Linked DNA regions of Homo sapiens: regions 2, 3, 4, 5 and 6 are each linked to region 1. Evidence: promoter capture Hi-C in 16 types of primary human blood cells and fetal thymus (Javierre and others, 2016). All regions are on one chromosome and are shown on one strand. The core of a region is centred on a gene start or on the middle of the fragment in contact, and the rest is flanking DNA. Distances in the headings are between cores, read along the strand shown. Region 1 holds the start of ABCB5 (ATP binding cassette subfamily B member 5). Region 2 has its middle 140 kb from the start of TMEM196. Region 3 overlaps MACC1-OT1 (MACC1 3' UTR overlapping transcript 1). Region 4 overlaps MACC1-OT1 (MACC1 3' UTR overlapping transcript 1). Region 5 overlaps MACC1-OT1 (MACC1 3' UTR overlapping transcript 1). Region 6 has its middle 69 kb from the start of TMEM196.

Region 1 (2,700 bases), core at 166-2,665:
ACAAACTTCCAGTTATAAGATGGGTACAGGATGGTGACTACAGTTAATAATTCTGTATTGTATATTTGAAATTTGCTAAGAGAGTAGATCTTAAGCGTTCTCACCAGACACGCACACACACAAACACGTAAATATGTGAAGTGATGGATGTGCTCATTGCAGTAATCATTTCACAATGTATATGTATATCACATCATCATGTTGTAAACCTTAAATATAGACAATAGTATTTGTCAATTATACATATTAAAGCTGAATAAATAAAATAAATTAATTAAAATTATATAAAACTCAAAATTCAGCTCCCTCACTAGGCACATTAAAAGCGCTCAATAGCCACATATGTGTAGCGGCTAGGATATTGGATGTGTGGAGAATATCTCAATTATTGCAGAAAGTTCTGTTGGATGGCTCTGCTCTAGAAGTAACACTTTTAGCTACATTACACCACTTCTGTGCATTTAGATGACATCATGAGATTTTTAAAGCAAAATTAATTATTCCTTCTGTGCATATGACAATTGCAAGTTTATCTCTAGGTTGGCAATTTTCCTAATTATTAGTGCCACATTTACATCTGTTTGCCAGATATTTTCACTTGGACACCAATATCAACCCAAATTTGCATATTTAAACTGAATGTTACCATTTCCCCAAAACCAATTCTGTCTCATAACTTCTCTATTACCATCTTTACTACTCTTTTGTTACAACTTTTAAAAGTTTGATCGCTGAACTTATATTTTTTTTATTTCTTCTTCCTTGTCCTCTTTACCTACCTACCGCCTTAAAAATACCTCTCAAATAGTCTTACTTACTGCTATCAAACTAGATTTTAATGAGTCTACTTAAATCTTGTGTTTCCCCAAGTCCTTCCAGTATATCCATGGCTGTAATGTCAAATAATCAGGTTAATTGTACCAAATACCAATGGCTTTGTCTCTTTCATTCCAGAAAATTATAAAAGTTGTCCTAAAAATTGGTTCAGTGCCTTTTACAATCGTATGTACCTTATCTCTCTCTCCATTTCTGCATGAACAGTCCATCCTATCCAAACCGTTCTCATTTCTCTACCATGAGATAATTCACCTTGCATTCCTAAAACTATGCCCTTGTTCCTCCTCCACATTTTTCTACTTACTGAAACCTTAGCCTTCCTCCAGAAACTAACCTCAGGGCCATCCTCATCTGTGGGCGAAACCATTTTAGATCACAATGTTCTTCCTCAGTCTTCTTAGATACTAGAATAGTCACTCTTTGTACTATTCATCACATAACGTCTGTCTTGCCAGGTATATTAGGTTCCCCTAGAGAAATAGAATCAATAGGCCGTGTGTGTGTGTGTGTGTGTGTGTGTGTGTGTGTGTGTATGTAGAGAGAGAAAGAGAAAACACGCTCATGTAATTGTGGTGACTGGCACTTCCAAAATCCACAAGCCAGACTAGAAGGCTGGAAATTCTGGCAAAAAATTGATACCTTGTATCTGAAAGCTTTATCCTATCCTCTTCAGAAGACTTCAGTCTTTTCTCTTAAGGACTTCAACTGACTGGATGGGGCCCACTCAAAACAGCATCTAAGGAATTAAAGTAAGTCAAAGCAAAAGTATTAGAGATTATGAAAACAATTGAAGCTTGTGAAGAATATAAAACACTTCTCCATCTTAGAAAGAATAGTTTGTGGTAAAGATGGAAACAAAAATGTGTGTGTATGAAACTTTTTCATAGTCAGAAATGATCATCCTACTATTATTTTGGTCATTTTAAAGCATCCATACAATTCATATCTTCTTTCTTTCTTTCCCTGTGACAGGGTCTCACTCTGTCACCCAGGCTGGAGTGCAGTGGCACGATGTTGGCTCACTGCAACCTCCGCCTCCAGGGTTCAAGAGATTTTCCTGGCTCAGCCTTCTGAGTAGCTGGGATTGCAGGTGCCCAGCACCATGCCCAGCTAATTTTTTTATTTTTAGTAGAGATGGGGTTTCACCTTGTTGGACAGGCTGGTCTCGAACTCCTGACCTCAGATGATCCAGCCGCCTTGGCCTCCCAAAGTGCTGGGATTACAGGCATGAGCCACTGCGCCCAGCCATATCTTCTTTCATCTAACCAAAGATCCCATGTTTTCCATCCAACCAGTATATCTTAGCTATTTGTCAGATTATTCTTACCAAGGATGCTTGAACGTTAAGTGCATCTCATGATTTCTTCTCACATGGGTATTTTGTCCTATGATTTCCATCTTGGTACATGAACCTAGAAATATTTTTTAAGGCAAAAGTCCTTATAAATAAAATATTCTGTCTATTTTTACATTTTCTTGTATGTTCCATAGTACTTGCCATGATAGCATCCACACAGCTGTCAATAAGTAAGAATTGGCTGACTGATAGATTTTGTGTAGAGCAATTAAGATGTTCAGAGTTCTTCTCTCATGTTATCTACTTAGTGCTGGATATTACTACCTGATTATCTCACAAATATCTCAAACTTGACAAGTTTCAAGTTAAATTTATCTTCCTTTTGAAACATTGGGTAACAGAGAGGAACATGGGGGCAGCCATCATAGTCAACCTGTAGCTTTCCATACAGTGAGGACCTGCCAACTGGCTCACAAATTGCTTTGACCTTGTGTCGCTTTGTCTCAGTGCACTTTTCTCTACTATCTAAATAGTATTCCTTCTGCCTGGGATAGTCTTTTTGATCT
Region 2 (2,700 bases), core at 117-2,616, 700 kb before region 1:
GGCAGGGTGGCAGTGGGGAGTGGGGATGGTAGGGTACAAAAATAATGTTAAATAGAATGAATAAGATCTAGTATTTGATAGAACAGTCAGCAAAAATTTATTGTACATTTAAAAATAACCAAAAGGGAATAATTGGATTTTTTGTGACACAAATAAAAGATAAATGCTTGAAGTGATGGATACCTCATTTACTACGATGTGATTATTACACAGTTTGTGCCCATATCAAAATACCTCATAAGTATTTATACCAAGTATGTACCCACTAAAATAAAAAAACCCATAATTCCTGGTTTATAGATGGTACCTAACAAAAGAATGTTATTAATAAATGTAACCAATGATAATAAGTATTAACAGCAGTATTTTATTATTACATTTTCAAAGAGTATGTCTACTGCCACCTCAGTTCAATATTTATACATCATGGTCTCTGTCTTTCATGGAATTAATAATCTAAAATATAACATTTTCTATAGACATATCTGTTTTTGAAATGTGTCATTAAACAATACAGAGTCAAATATGGAAAAACTTAATAAATATATTTTGTATTAAAACATAATTAGCAAAGATCTATTTCTAATATACAGTATGTAGATCTGTATTGATTTCCTTTTCCCCTCAACTGTGAATTTAGGCTACAAATCAAAGGAAAGAGAGCCAATGAGCCCTGATTAACAAGTCTTGCTGAGGACCAGAAGGCATTGTTGGCAGAAGTCATTTAGGGAGACTTGTTGCTAGGTATTGCCAACAAGTTGGTCCCCTGTGACCTGTACAAAAGGCTGCTGTAACAGAGTCTTGTGCTGGGATGGCAGGAACAATTCATGAATGTTATTTTAATACCTTAAAATACCTTCCTATATAGTGTAGCTCAGAATAAATTTCTATTTTTAAGATATGTATCTTATTGTCTTTGTTCAGTAATGATTTTTGTTTTACACCAACTTCGTTTATATTTTTCTTTATGTTACTGGCTTTTCAGCATTTCTTGGGCTCTTTTTAGAAATATAGAGATATTCCCACTATGAACTTGAAGGGATAAATATTATTTTGTTGTTGGTGTTGTGTCTGCAAAGATTAGCTTTGAACATTCACAATTACAATATCTACTTATTGGTAGTAGCTAAAATATTATTTTAAATGTTTAAAGAAATATACAGTTATAATCTCTAGCTTTTACTAGTGGGTACCTGATTATCAGCACATACTTTTCAATTCCATTCCTTTCTTTTGCTCCCCTCACCCCTAGTATAAGCATGGAAAATTAATACTTTCAAAAATAAGAGTCTGGATGGGACAAATGCTTTAAGCCCTCCAAATGATCTTAAATTTTTTATACAATACTTAATGTGCTTCCCATAACCCACTTTTCTATGCTTCCCTGAGAAGCACTGAGTCTAATGCTAACAATTTTAACTCAATCTACAAAGTGGTTCTTTAAATAAAAAATTATGACTGTCACACATTTGAAATTTTGTGTACTTTTATTCTACATCAACTAGTAATCAACTACAGGCACGACTCAGAGATGTTGTGGGCTCAGTTCACATTACCACAATAAAGCAAGTATCACAATATAGCAAATCACTGAAGTTTTTAGCTTCTCAGTTCATATAAAAGTTATGTTTACCCTATACAATAGTATATTAAATGTACAATAGCATTATGTTTAAAAAATCAATGTGCATACCTTAATTAAAAAATACTTTACTGCTAAAAATGCTAACAATCATCTCAGCCTTCAACAAGCCATAATCTTTTTCCTGGTTGAGTGTCTTGCCTCTGTGTTGATGACTGCTGACTGATTATGGTTGTGGTTGCTGAAGGCCAAGGTGGCAGTGGCAATTTCTTAAAATAAGACAGCATTGAAGTTTGCCATATCGATTGGCTTTTCCTATCACAAAAGAGCATGAAATCTTGTTTTATAGCATTTGATCCACAGAATAACTTTCAAAATTGGAGTCAGTCCTCTTAAACCCTGCTGTTTCTATATCAACTAAGTTTATGTAATATTCTAAATCATTTGTTGCCATTTCAACAATGTTCACAATATCTTCAGCAGTTCTTTTGCTATTCCTATCCCATAATCGGTGACTTCCTCCATTGAATTCCTGACCCCCTCAAAGTCATCCATGAGGGATGGAATGAACTTCTTCCAAATTCTTGTTAATATTGACATGTTGACCTTCTTCTACAAATCATGAATGTTCTTAAAGACGTTTAGAATGGTGAATCATTTCTAGGTTTTCAGTTTACTTTGCAAAGATTCATATGAAGAATTACTATCTATAGCAGCAATAGCTTTACAAAATGTATTTCTTAAATAATCTGACTTGGAAGTCAAATGATTTCTTGATCCATGGGCCATAGAATGAATGTTGTGTTAGCACACATGAAAACAACATTAATATTTTTGCATAACTCTATTACGGCTCTTGAGTGACCAGGTACACTGTCAAGGAGCAGTAATATTTTATTTTATTTTATTTATTTCCTTTGAGATGGAGTCTCACTCTGTCACCCTGGCTGGAGTGCAGTGGCACAATCGCGGCTCTCTGCAACTTCTACCTCCCCAGTTCCAGTGATTCTCCTGCCCCAGCCTCCTGAGTAGCTGGGATTACAGGCATCTGCCACCATGCCCAGCTAATTTTTGTATTTTTGGTAGAGACAGGGTTATGCCCTGTTGGCCAGGCTCTT
Region 3 (2,700 bases), core at 116-2,615, 670 kb before region 1:
ATAAGTAGTATTAGTAGATTAGTAGAGGACCAAAGCTTGATTGGAATGGATTTAATAGCAATTGAAAAGAGAAGTTGAAATAGAGATTAGGTATTTTTGTTGAGGTCTTTTGTGGGGGCAGCAAACAAATGCTGGCAGGCAGGAGAAGTGGGGCCAATAACATTGACATTATTGAGAATTATTACTGCATATAACTGAAATTGTAGTCTACCTGACCATAAACGATTGCCCAAGAATGGGTCACCAACAAAGGTGAGTCAATGTATAGACTGACAATGGCAAATAATTATCTGGTATGAAAGAAGTGACTTGCAGAGATGATGGCAGTAATTGGACCAATCTTAGAGTCTTTCCAAAAGCATTTGAATCAGAAACATTGAACCAGAAATAGTTGAGATGCTGGTAGAAACAGAAAAGGCTCAAAAACATACTAAGTCAAACAGAATCAGATAATATAACTTAATGATTTTTAATAGCAGTTCACAGTGACTAGAAGAATCAACAAAATCCCATTTTTACCAAGTAGACTCTAGGCTGTCTCAGTCACCTTAGCAATGGTGGATTCTAAAGAACTGCTCAGATTTTGTGAGACTCAATTTCAAATTTCTTACCGTGTTTTCCTGAATTTACTATTTAAAAGGCAATGCATTCACATGGTGCACAATCCCAAGGGTGCAACAGGATTTACAGTAAAAATCTTCCTGCTGCCCCCACTCCCAAGTACCTAGTTTTTCACTCTGAGGCAACAGCTTATCAGTGGTCTGCATACACTTCTAGAGTAATTGTGTGTATTAAACCGATACGTGTATAAAAGTATGTATGGGTGTATATGTGCCCACATGAACATGCTTTTATCAAAAAACATGGAAATTAATTTATGCCAGTGCATAAAAAACTTCCTCATTATTTTCTTTAGCAGTGGATGCAACATGGTGTAACCATGTCCCATCTTGATGGACATGGGATTATTTCCTATCTTTGGCTTTTTTACATAAAACTGCAGTGAGGAACTTTACATCCAAGTCGTTTTGCATGCACAAAGTTTATCTACATAATGTATTTCAGAAGTTAAATTCCAGAATTAAATGAGCAGGTGTTTATAACTCTGACAGGTGTTGCCAAATGACTTTCCACAGTGGTTGTAAAAAGTTACATTTCTATGAAAGTTGTTTCCCCACATCCTAGAAAACAGAGTTCACGATCAAATAGTATTTTTAAGTATTTGCCTATCAAAAGGTAATATGTATCTCAATATAGGTTTAAATCATAATTATCTTATTATGAGAGCAGCTAGGAATATTTTCACATACTTAAGAGCCACTCCTATTTTATGTTTATAAAATATTTATATCTTCTTTGGGTTGTTGATCATTTTCCTTATCAAGTGTAGTGCCCCTTTCTATGAGACAGAAATTAGCTTTTTGTCTAATATTCATTGTAAATACTTTTAAACTGTTTTCTCTTTGTTTGTATTTCTTCATGATGCATTTTTCTGTGAAAGAAGATTTCACATGTGTGTCTGTGTACATGTGTGCACGCTTGGTAGTTGAATTTGTTAAAATGTTTCTTTAATATGACTTCCAGGTTATGTGTAATATCTAGAAAGGTCTTTCTTATGCAAAATTATAAAACAATTATTTTCCATTTTAAAAACACTTCTATTTACCTTTTTTATAGTTAAATCTCTAATTCATTTTTAAATAACCAGTGTCTAAGATGTGAAAAGCTAATCTAATTTATCTGATTTTTTCTTCTTTCCCAGAATGAATATCTGGTTTTCCCAATACTCATTAAATTCAATATTTCCAACTGATTTGAAATATTTTGTTTATCATATACTAAATTTTGATATTTTCAGAACTCTCTCTTCAGTTTTTATTTGGTTCCATTTAATTTGTTCATTCATTGGTAATAAACTGTCTTAACTTGTGTAACTAATTCATGTATATTAATATAACTTTATAATATATTTAGTCCTCTCATTTCATTTATTATAGCTAATTTTTTAACATGAAATTTAGAATCTCAACTGTGCATTATGGATCAGCTCCATTTCCTAACCAAGGAATAAAAGTTTAGTAATGACACATCTATGAGAAAAACTTGCTCAAATATTTATGTTTCTTCTCTCTCTCCCTCTATATATATATAAAGATATATATATAGTTGATATATATATGGTTGACATATATATAGTTTGTATCTATGTATCTATCTGTCTATCTATCTATCTCTCTATCGATAGATAGATATCTTTCTATCTATCGATAGATAGATAGATATCTTTCTGTCTCTCAGCAATGGTAAGCTCTCTCCTTTCCCTGGCTCCAAAGTTCTCAGTTTGATACAGTTTTGGTATTTGTCTCCACCCAAATCTCATGTTGGATTACAATCCCCAGTGCTGAAGGCAGGGGATGGTTGAAAGCGTTTGGATCCTGGGGGTGGATCTCTCATGGCTTGGTGCTGTCTTCGTGATAGTGTGTGAGTTCTTGGTCATTTAAAAGGGTGTGGCACCTCCCCACCCCCACTCTCTTTGTCCATTACGCCTGCTTTTGCCAAGTGACACGCCCACATCCTAGAAAACAGAGGTCATTATTAAACAATATTTTTAAATATTTGCCTATCAAAAAGCAATATGTACATCATTATAGTTTTAAATCATAATTCTCAATAAATTCCACCATGATTGTGATTGTAAGC
Region 4 (2,700 bases), core at 177-2,676, 600 kb before region 1:
TTAGAGTCAATATTAAATAATAAGAGGATCACAAATCAAGAAAATTATGTATCGAATGAATATGGAACTTCATTCACTTCTTTAGTAAATGTCTAAACAAGCCCATCTCCTGCTGTGCCATTTCTTGCTGTTACATAGAACTGATACTTAATTCTTGGCAATTTCCCTAGGCCGAGCTCTTTTTCTTGTCTAAACACCAATATTCTGGTTTGTACTTCTGTGTACAGGGTCAATCACATCTGCCTGCTCCTCTTCACCTTAGTCAAACCTCATCCTCTCAAATCTATCCTCACATGGGCCTCTGGCCTTCTGATCTGGCCTTTGCCCTTTGTCTCCCTAGACTCAAGGCATCATTTCGTTTTTCTCTTGTTAATTATCTTTACCCAACTGGTTTACAAGGCAAGTTGTTCACATCTGTTCTACCTCCTACCTAACCAAACTATCTCCATGGACTGCACTGCTCTGAGGCTGCTTAAGTAACAATGAAGCCAACCCTTCATTAGCAGAGAAAATAAAACCAAGCTGTGTCAGTTGTGAATGTCTGGTCTAGCAGTTTTCAGCATCCTTATATTCTTAGAGATTTAGTATATGATTGGAGGGAAAGGTTGACTGTAGACATAGATTACCTGGAGTCAAATCCTGGGTCTGCAACTTGGTAGTTGTGGAAACTTAGACAAATGAAGTGCCTCCGCATTACCATTTGTAAAGTTGGAGTAATATTCTCCGATTATTAAATAAGCTAATATAAATAAAGCCCTTAGAACAATACCTGATACATAGAAAGACTCAAATTAGTATTTGTTCTAGTTACTTACTCTAATATTCATGTTTAACTTCTTTGAACATAGTCATTACTAAACAAATACGTATGGGAAAATTTAGAGTGAATATTAAATAATAAAATAACAAAAGTAAAAAAGTTATGTCTTGGATGAATGTGTAAGTTCATTCCCTCCTTTATTAAATATTTATTGAGTTTCTGTGATGAGGCAGTCACTGTGCTAGCTACTGGGCAGATGACTGGGAATGAGATAAATGAAGCCTTTGCCCTTATGCACTTACATTATAATGGAGCTTAAATTTGAATTGATGAAGGAATACATCAGTGGCTTTGTGAATGCCAAGGCATATGATTGTAACCTTTATTCTGAAGTGGCTTTCTCTTTGCCAGATAAGAAAAGGCATCTTCGGGCATGGTCAACTATTTTGGAAATTCTGCCTCTGTTCTTTGTGACCTTGGAAGATGATTCATAATTGTATATTTATTAATCATGATAAAAATTGCTGACTCATTTTATAAGATTCAATTTTAATAAAACTTCATACGTGATGCTTCACATCAGCATAGCAAATAAAATATTAGCCCTGATAAAATATTCACTTTTTTGGTTTTGCTTCATTATTCTACAAAAAACCCCCATAATGTTATTTTTAATTATTAGATTGGTGCAAAAGTAGTTGCAGTTTGTGCCATTACTTTTGCACCAACCTAATATATATTTTACAACACATGTTTATTGATAGACTTCCAATAATACATAAAATAATAAAGTAAAACATCAATGGAAATCCAATTATCATGAGATTTAATAAACACTATTAATATGTTGTGATTTTCTTTTCATGAATCCCTTATGCACTCATGTAAAAATTTTACATAAATGGAATGATATTACATAAGAAGTTTTAGCCATTAATACTTTTCTTTCTTTTTTTTTCTTCTTTTTCATTTTGCCTCTATGAACAGTGCTGAAACAAACATCTTATGTATTGATGCTTTCACTTCTTTTTTTTTTTTTTTTTTTTTTTTTTTGAGACAAGAGGGTCTCATTCTGTCGCCCAGACTGGATTGCAGTGGCTCGATCTCCATGAACTGCAACCTCCGCCTCCCAGGCTGAAGCCATTCTCCTGCTTCAGCCTCCCGAGTAGGTAGGATTACAGGCATGCACCACCACGCCAGGCTAATGTTTGTATTTTTAGTAGAGACAAGGTTTTACCATGTTGACTAGGCTGGTCTGGAACTCCTGACCTCAAATGAGCCATCCACCTCGGCCTCCCAAAGTGCCGGGATTATAGGCATGAGCCACCGTGCCCAGCATGAGGCTTTCACTTCTATAGGTTAAATTCCAAAAGTAGGATTGCTAGGCCAAGGGGTATATATAGTTTTAATTTGTATTGACATTGCCCAGTCGCTTTTTTTTTTTTTTTTTTTTTTTTTTGAGACAGAGTCTCACTCTGTCGCCCAGACTGGAGTGCAGTGGCGTGGTCTCGGCTCACTGCAACCTCCGCCTCCTGGGTTCAAGCAATTCTCTGCCTCAGCCTTCCACGTAGCCGAGATTACAGGTGCCTACCACCACGCCCAGCTAATTTTTTGTATTTTTAGTAGAGACGGAGTTTCACCATCTTGGCCAGGCAGGTCTTGAACTCCCGACCTCGTGATCCACCCGCCTCGGCCTCCCAAAGTGCTGGGATTACAGGCATGAGCCACCGCGCCCAGCCTTTTTTTTTTTTTTTAATGGAGTCTTGCTCTGTCTCCCAGGCTGGAGTGCAGTGGCCCGATCTTGGCTCACTGCAACTTCCGCCCCCCAAGCTCAAGCGATTCTCTTGCCTCGGCCTCCTGAGTAGCTGGGACTACAGGCCTTCGCCACCACACCCAGCTAATTTTTTGTATTTTTAGTAGAGAAGGGGTTTCACTATGTT
Region 5 (2,700 bases), core at 171-2,670, 640 kb before region 1:
ACTTAAATGGATTTATGTTGAACCTCCCATACCACACCAGAGTGGTATACTTTTTACAACTGATGAAACTACATTGACACATCATTATCCATTAACATCCATAGTTTATTTCAGGGTTCACTTTGGGTAGTATGCATTCTATGGATTTTGACAAATGAATAATGACATGTAGCCACTATTGTAGCATCATACAAAATAGTTTCACTTCCCTAAAAATTTTCTGTGCTTCAACTCTTCTTCCCTCCTGCCTCCTTAACTCTTGGAAACCACTTTTTACTATATCCATAGTTTTGTTTTTTCCAGAATGCCATATTTTGAAATCGTATGGTATATAGCCTTTTCAGATTGGCTTCTTTTACTAAGTAATGTGCATTTAAGCTACCTCTTTGTCTTTTCATGGCTTGAGAGCTAATTTCTTTTCTTTTCTTTCCTTTTTTTTTTTTTCTTTTTTTTTTTGAGACAGAGTTTTGCTCTATCGTCCAGGCTGGAGTGCAGTGGCGCAATCTCCGCGCACTGCAACCTCCACCTCCTGGGTTCAAGTGATTCTCCTGCCTCAGCCTCCCGAGTAGTTGGGACTACAGGTGTATGCCACCACACCCGGCTAATTTTTTGTATTTTTGGTTGGAGGGGTTTCACTGTGTTAGCCAGGCTGATCTCGATCTCCTGAGCTCGTGATCCGCCTGCCTCAGCCTCCCACAGTGCTGAGATTACAGGTGTGAGCCAGCACGCCCAGCCTGATAGCTCATTTCTTTTTAGTGAATAACATTCCATTGTCTGTATGTATTACATTTATTTATCCATTTACCTACCGCAGGACATCTTTGTTGCTTCCAAATTTGGGTAATTATGAAGAAAGCTGCTATAAACATCCATGTGCAGGACTTTGTGAACATATGTTTCCAACTCCTTTGGATGAATACCAAGAAGCATGACTGCTGGGTTGTATGCTAAGAGTATGTTTAGTTTTGTAAGAAACCACCAAACTGTCTTCAAATTGGCTCTACCATATCACCAGCAATGACTGAGACAGAAATGGATGTACCATATCATCAGGAATGACTGAGAGTTTCCACTGCTTCACATCTTCACCAGCATTTTGTGTTAGTGTTCTGGATTTTGGCCATTCTAGTAGATGTGTAGTGGTTTCTCATTGTTGTTTCAGTTTGCATTTCTCTTATGACATATAACGTGGAACATATTTTCATATGTTTATTTGCCATCCATATATCTTCTTTGGTGAGGTGTCAAGATCTTGGCTCTTTTTAAATTGTGTTTTTAATTTTCTTGTTGTGGAGTTTAAGAGTTTTCTGTATATTTTTTATAATAGTTTTGCATTTACAGTATTTACATATGTAATCCATCCTAATTTTTGTGAAAGGTGTAAGGTCTATGTCTAGATTCTTTTCTTTTTTTTTTTTTTTTTTTTTTGCATGTGAATGTCTAATTGTCCTAGCACTGTTTGTGGAAAAGACTGTTTTTGCTCCATTGTATCATCTTTGCTCCTTTTTTGCAGATCAGTTGACTATATTTATGTGGGTCTATTTTAGGGCTTTCTATTTTGTTCCATTGATCTATTTGTCTATTCTTTCACCAGCACCGTACATTTTGATGACTGTAGCTTTATAGTAAGTCTTGAAATCAATAGTGTTAGTCCTCTAACTTTGTTCTTCTCCTTCAATATTGAATTGGCTATTCTAGTTCTCTTGTCTGTCCATATAAATTTTTGAATCAGTTTGTTCACATAATAACTTACTGAGATTTTGATTGGGATTGTGTTGTATCTATATATCAAGTTAGGAAGAACTGACATCTTGATAATACTGAACCTTCCTATCCACAAACATGAAATATCTCTCCATTTATTTAGTTCTTTGATATTTGAGTTTTGCAGTTTTGCTTATATAAATCTTGTACATATTTTGTTAGATTTATACTAAGTATTTCACTGTTGGAGGGAGTACTAATGTAAATGGCATAATGTTTTTAATTTCAAATTCCACTTACTCATTGCTGGTATATAGACAAATGATTGACTTTTTTATATTAATCTTGTATCATGCAACCTTGCTGTAATCACTTATTAATTTCAGAAAAATATTGTTAATTCTTTTGGTTTTTCCACATAGATAAGTATGTCATCTGAAAATAAAGACAGTTTTATTTCTTCCTTCCCAATATGCCTGTCTTTATTTCTTTTTATAAAAAACAAAAGTATTGCATTAGCTCAGACTACCAATATGATCTTGAAAAAGAAAGGTAAGAGGAACTCCCTTTCGTTTTTCCTTATTTTTGCAGGAAATTGTCTAGATTTTCACCATTAAGTATGATGTCAGCATAAGATATTTTTGTGTGTATATTATTTATCCAGTTAATAAAGTTTTCCTCTATTCCTAGTTTGCTGAGTTATTTGTCTCTCAGCAAAAACTCTCAGATTTGAATGAGTGTTAGATTTTCATCAAGTATTTTTTATGCATTTATGGATATGATCCTGTGATTTTTAGACTGTTAATATGATTACTTACCTTAATTAATTTTTCAATGTTAAATGAGCCTTGCATATTTGAGATAAATTTCCTGGTTATGCCATATAATTATTTTTATGCATAGTTAGATTTAATTTTGTTTTGTTATTATTTTGTTGAGGACTTTACATCTATATTTATGAGAACTATTGGTCTGTAGTTTTCTTGTAATGTCTTT
Region 6 (2,700 bases), core at 78-2,577, 770 kb before region 1:
ACCCTAGGACATAGATCTGCAAACTTTTTTCTTCTGTGAAGGATCACAGTATATATTTTAGGCTGAGCAGCCCACGTACAGTCTCTGTTGTGCAATTCTGCTTATTTATGTTCTTATTATAAATCCTTTAAAATGTAAAAACCATGCTTAGCTTGCAACCACACAAAAAGATCATGGGCTAGATTGGCCTACAAGCTTTACTTTCCCAGCCCCTGCAGCCCAGGCAAGATGGTCGGCATTGGTATGGTGGAAGCTGGACAGTGGCTATGTTCAGTTTCCAGCAAGCAGTAAGGAAGAAGAGAGTGTGGAGGAGGTGTGTGTAATGTCTTAAATCCTAGAAATCACTCAGGACTTCATTAGAGGCAAAGAAAGCTTAGTTGGTCAACTAGCCACAGATATATTATATAGGAAAAAGGAAGAATGGGATTTTGTGAATGATAAGCAATTTCCCTTCAGTGGTTTTGAAGAGGTGACAAATTATTACCCTATCTAGGACAACCATGCTTCAGATTTCATGACTATATGGATTAAGTCATATTATATAGCAAATATCTTCCTAAAACACTTCATAATTTGTTTTCTCCTTTCAAAAATGTGAAAGTATGTAATTATCAATTTATCTTTTCTTCCATGCTTTTCTTGCCACCATGTTAAAATGCAATTACTTTGACAGTTATTCAAATTACCTAAAATATGAATTTCTAATTAATAAATTATATATTTTCTTAAAATAGATATTCTTTAATGTCAAATTTGTAGAAAAAATAGGTCTATTCAAAATATACATGTAAAATTTGGACTAGCAAGCAAGAATGGCTAAATATAATATCTGCTTTTGGGTTAGAATTAAAATAAGTTTGAGAAAGAATAATGTCCAAATTAAGATGGGAAAAGTAATGCTTAAATTCACTGTAATATCAAAAGTCAAACCAGACTGCATAACTAACTTTTTATACTCATTAGCAGAAGATTCACATTTCTTCTAACATTAGCATTAGAAATATATTAAGTGCCTGCCATTAGAAATATGCAACTGCCTGCTATGTACCAGGTGCTGGGCAAAGGGCTTTACATTATCTCCAATACTCACAAGATCTTGTATGCAAGCATCATCCCCCTTACTTTACAAATGAAGATATTGATGATCAAAGAGGTTCATTAAAATTTCCTAATTTAAACACAGAGCAATAATTTATACCAGCTATTTCTGATCTCAAAGTTTGTGTTCCCTCCATTAGCTTTGCTTCATGATACCTTGCAGTATCATGAGAACCCAGTTTGATGGTTCATATTACCGAGAAAATATATAGGTACTTTGACACTTCCTGGCAAGATAAAGAAAGTGATAGTACTAAAATTTGTGGAATGCATGATGTTTGGTTTAGAATAAATTCTATTATTTTAAAAAATGTTGCATAACTTTTGTTCTTCATTGCAGAGAAGATGCTACTGGGAGAAAAATCTGGATATTAAGGACTGAGTTAAAAAGTGACTCAGGAAAATGAAATACTGAGAAAAAAATTTAGAAATGTTTCAAACAATTATTTTGTTTACATTTATCTTTTCATATAGGCATGAGGGATTATAGTATAAAATTATGTCTAAATATATCTAAAATAGTTATTTAGGGATAATATAAAATGCTAAGGGACAAACAATTGAGTTATAATTGAAGCAGAAGTGTTTTTTTCTTTCCCAGCAGTATATAAAATAATAATTCATTTATTATTAATAAACATAAAATAATGTATTAATCTGACAACCAATAATGTTAGATTCAATAAAAGTAAACTATTACCAAATGCTATAATTGGATCTTTACTAATACACCACTGGTAATAAAAATGTTGTGTCATATTGGACCAATTGTCATAGTAAAGAAATAGAAGCTATATAGAAGATGGACTAGTAGTCCTCACAAAAGTAAAATTATTAAGATAATTTAAAGACTAAGTTAGTGATATATTAACCTTAACATATCAGGTGTTGTTAGATTAAGTTTTAAAAACAAAAAGGAATATGGAAAATCTCATTGGTCCATATTTTTTTTCTTTCTAGCTGTCTGCTGGAGTCTTTGCTTTGATAATCATAAGGATTCTTCTAGGTTCCTAAAACTACAGGTTTAAATAATTCATTTATAATTGTTTCCCATTAAGAATAGTGAACACCAAGAATTGATGCCAAAGGAAAATAAAATGTTAGTGTGTTCAAAGGACCACAATTTAACTACAGTTTGCAAATGTGTATAACATCTCCAAATAATTTAATTTCACTTATGGAACAAAGCTTTTGCATTAATATTTAATTTCCAAAAGTTAAGGGGCATGGTTAATTAAAGATTTACATATATTACATACTTTAACACATTCTGGAGAAATTTGTTTATTAATCAGACTGTTGCTTTTTCAGGCCTAAGTTGCAGTTAAAATGTGAATTAGGTACAATGTTATATATTTCTAACCTTTGCATTTTCTTTTAAAATTTTCAAATCCAGACATAATCTTGCAACCATTTATCTCTTCTCTTTACCTTCATCAATGTGTCAACAGGACCGAAATGTTATTTTTATAAATATTTTTTACTAGAATTTCTTAAATACAGAAAATCCCTATGTTCAGCTGAGAGGTTAGAACTGGACTAACATAAATTTAACCCTAGATCTAGAATTTAGTTAGTTTTTTATATATTGGATAAGCTACT

The links. The method cuts DNA at HindIII sites, captures the fragments that hold promoters and counts their contacts. A CHiCAGO score of 5 or more calls a contact.
Region 2: a contact is called between a fragment that was not itself captured here and the fragment with the promoter of ABCB5 in region 1, in 1 of 17 cell types (M2 macrophages). The highest score is 5.2, in M2 macrophages.
Region 3: a fragment that was not itself captured here is called in contact with the fragment with the promoter of ABCB5 in region 1 in 1 of 17 cell types (M2 macrophages); the score reaches 6.0 in M2 macrophages.
Region 4: a fragment that was not itself captured here is called in contact with the fragment with the promoter of ABCB5 in region 1 in 1 of 17 cell types (monocytes); the score reaches 5.0 in monocytes.
Region 5: a fragment that was not itself captured here is called in contact with the fragment with the promoter of ABCB5 in region 1 in 1 of 17 cell types (M2 macrophages); the score reaches 5.3 in M2 macrophages.
Region 6: a fragment that was not itself captured here is called in contact with the fragment with the promoter of ABCB5 in region 1 in 1 of 17 cell types (M2 macrophages); the score reaches 5.4 in M2 macrophages.

What each region holds. Positions count from the first base shown.
Region 1 is chr7:20,614,252-20,616,951 of GRCh38, forward strand. It overlaps ABCB5 (ATP binding cassette subfamily B member 5), which reads left to right and starts at 1,416. Exons shown (of 28, transcript NM_001163941.2): 1 at 1,416-1,586. The HindIII fragment of the contact is 15,833 bases long and covers 1-1,488 here.
Region 2 is chr7:19,911,419-19,914,118 of GRCh38, forward strand. No RefSeq gene overlaps it. Among named protein-coding and RNA genes, the nearest start is that of TMEM196, 140 kb to the left of the region's middle. The HindIII fragment of the contact is 4,445 bases long and covers 1-2,700 here.
Region 3 is chr7:19,945,619-19,948,318 of GRCh38, forward strand. The region is part of intron 5 of MACC1-OT1 (MACC1 3' UTR overlapping transcript 1); the gene reads right to left. Among named protein-coding and RNA genes, the nearest start is that of TMEM196, 170 kb to the left of the region's middle. The HindIII fragment of the contact is 2,664 bases long and covers 34-2,697 here.
Region 4 is chr7:20,015,585-20,018,284 of GRCh38, forward strand. The region is part of intron 3 of MACC1-OT1 (MACC1 3' UTR overlapping transcript 1); the gene reads right to left. Among named protein-coding and RNA genes, the nearest start is that of MACC1-OT1, 120 kb to the right of the region's middle. The HindIII fragment of the contact is 6,253 bases long and covers 1-2,700 here.
Region 5 is chr7:19,972,881-19,975,580 of GRCh38, forward strand. All of the region lies in intron 3 of MACC1-OT1 (MACC1 3' UTR overlapping transcript 1), which reads right to left. Among named protein-coding and RNA genes, the nearest start is that of MACC1-OT1, 170 kb to the right of the region's middle. The HindIII fragment of the contact is 4,567 bases long and covers 1-2,700 here.
Region 6 is chr7:19,841,188-19,843,887 of GRCh38, forward strand. No RefSeq gene overlaps it. Among named protein-coding and RNA genes, the nearest start is that of TMEM196, 69 kb to the left of the region's middle. The HindIII fragment of the contact is 1,914 bases long and covers 371-2,284 here.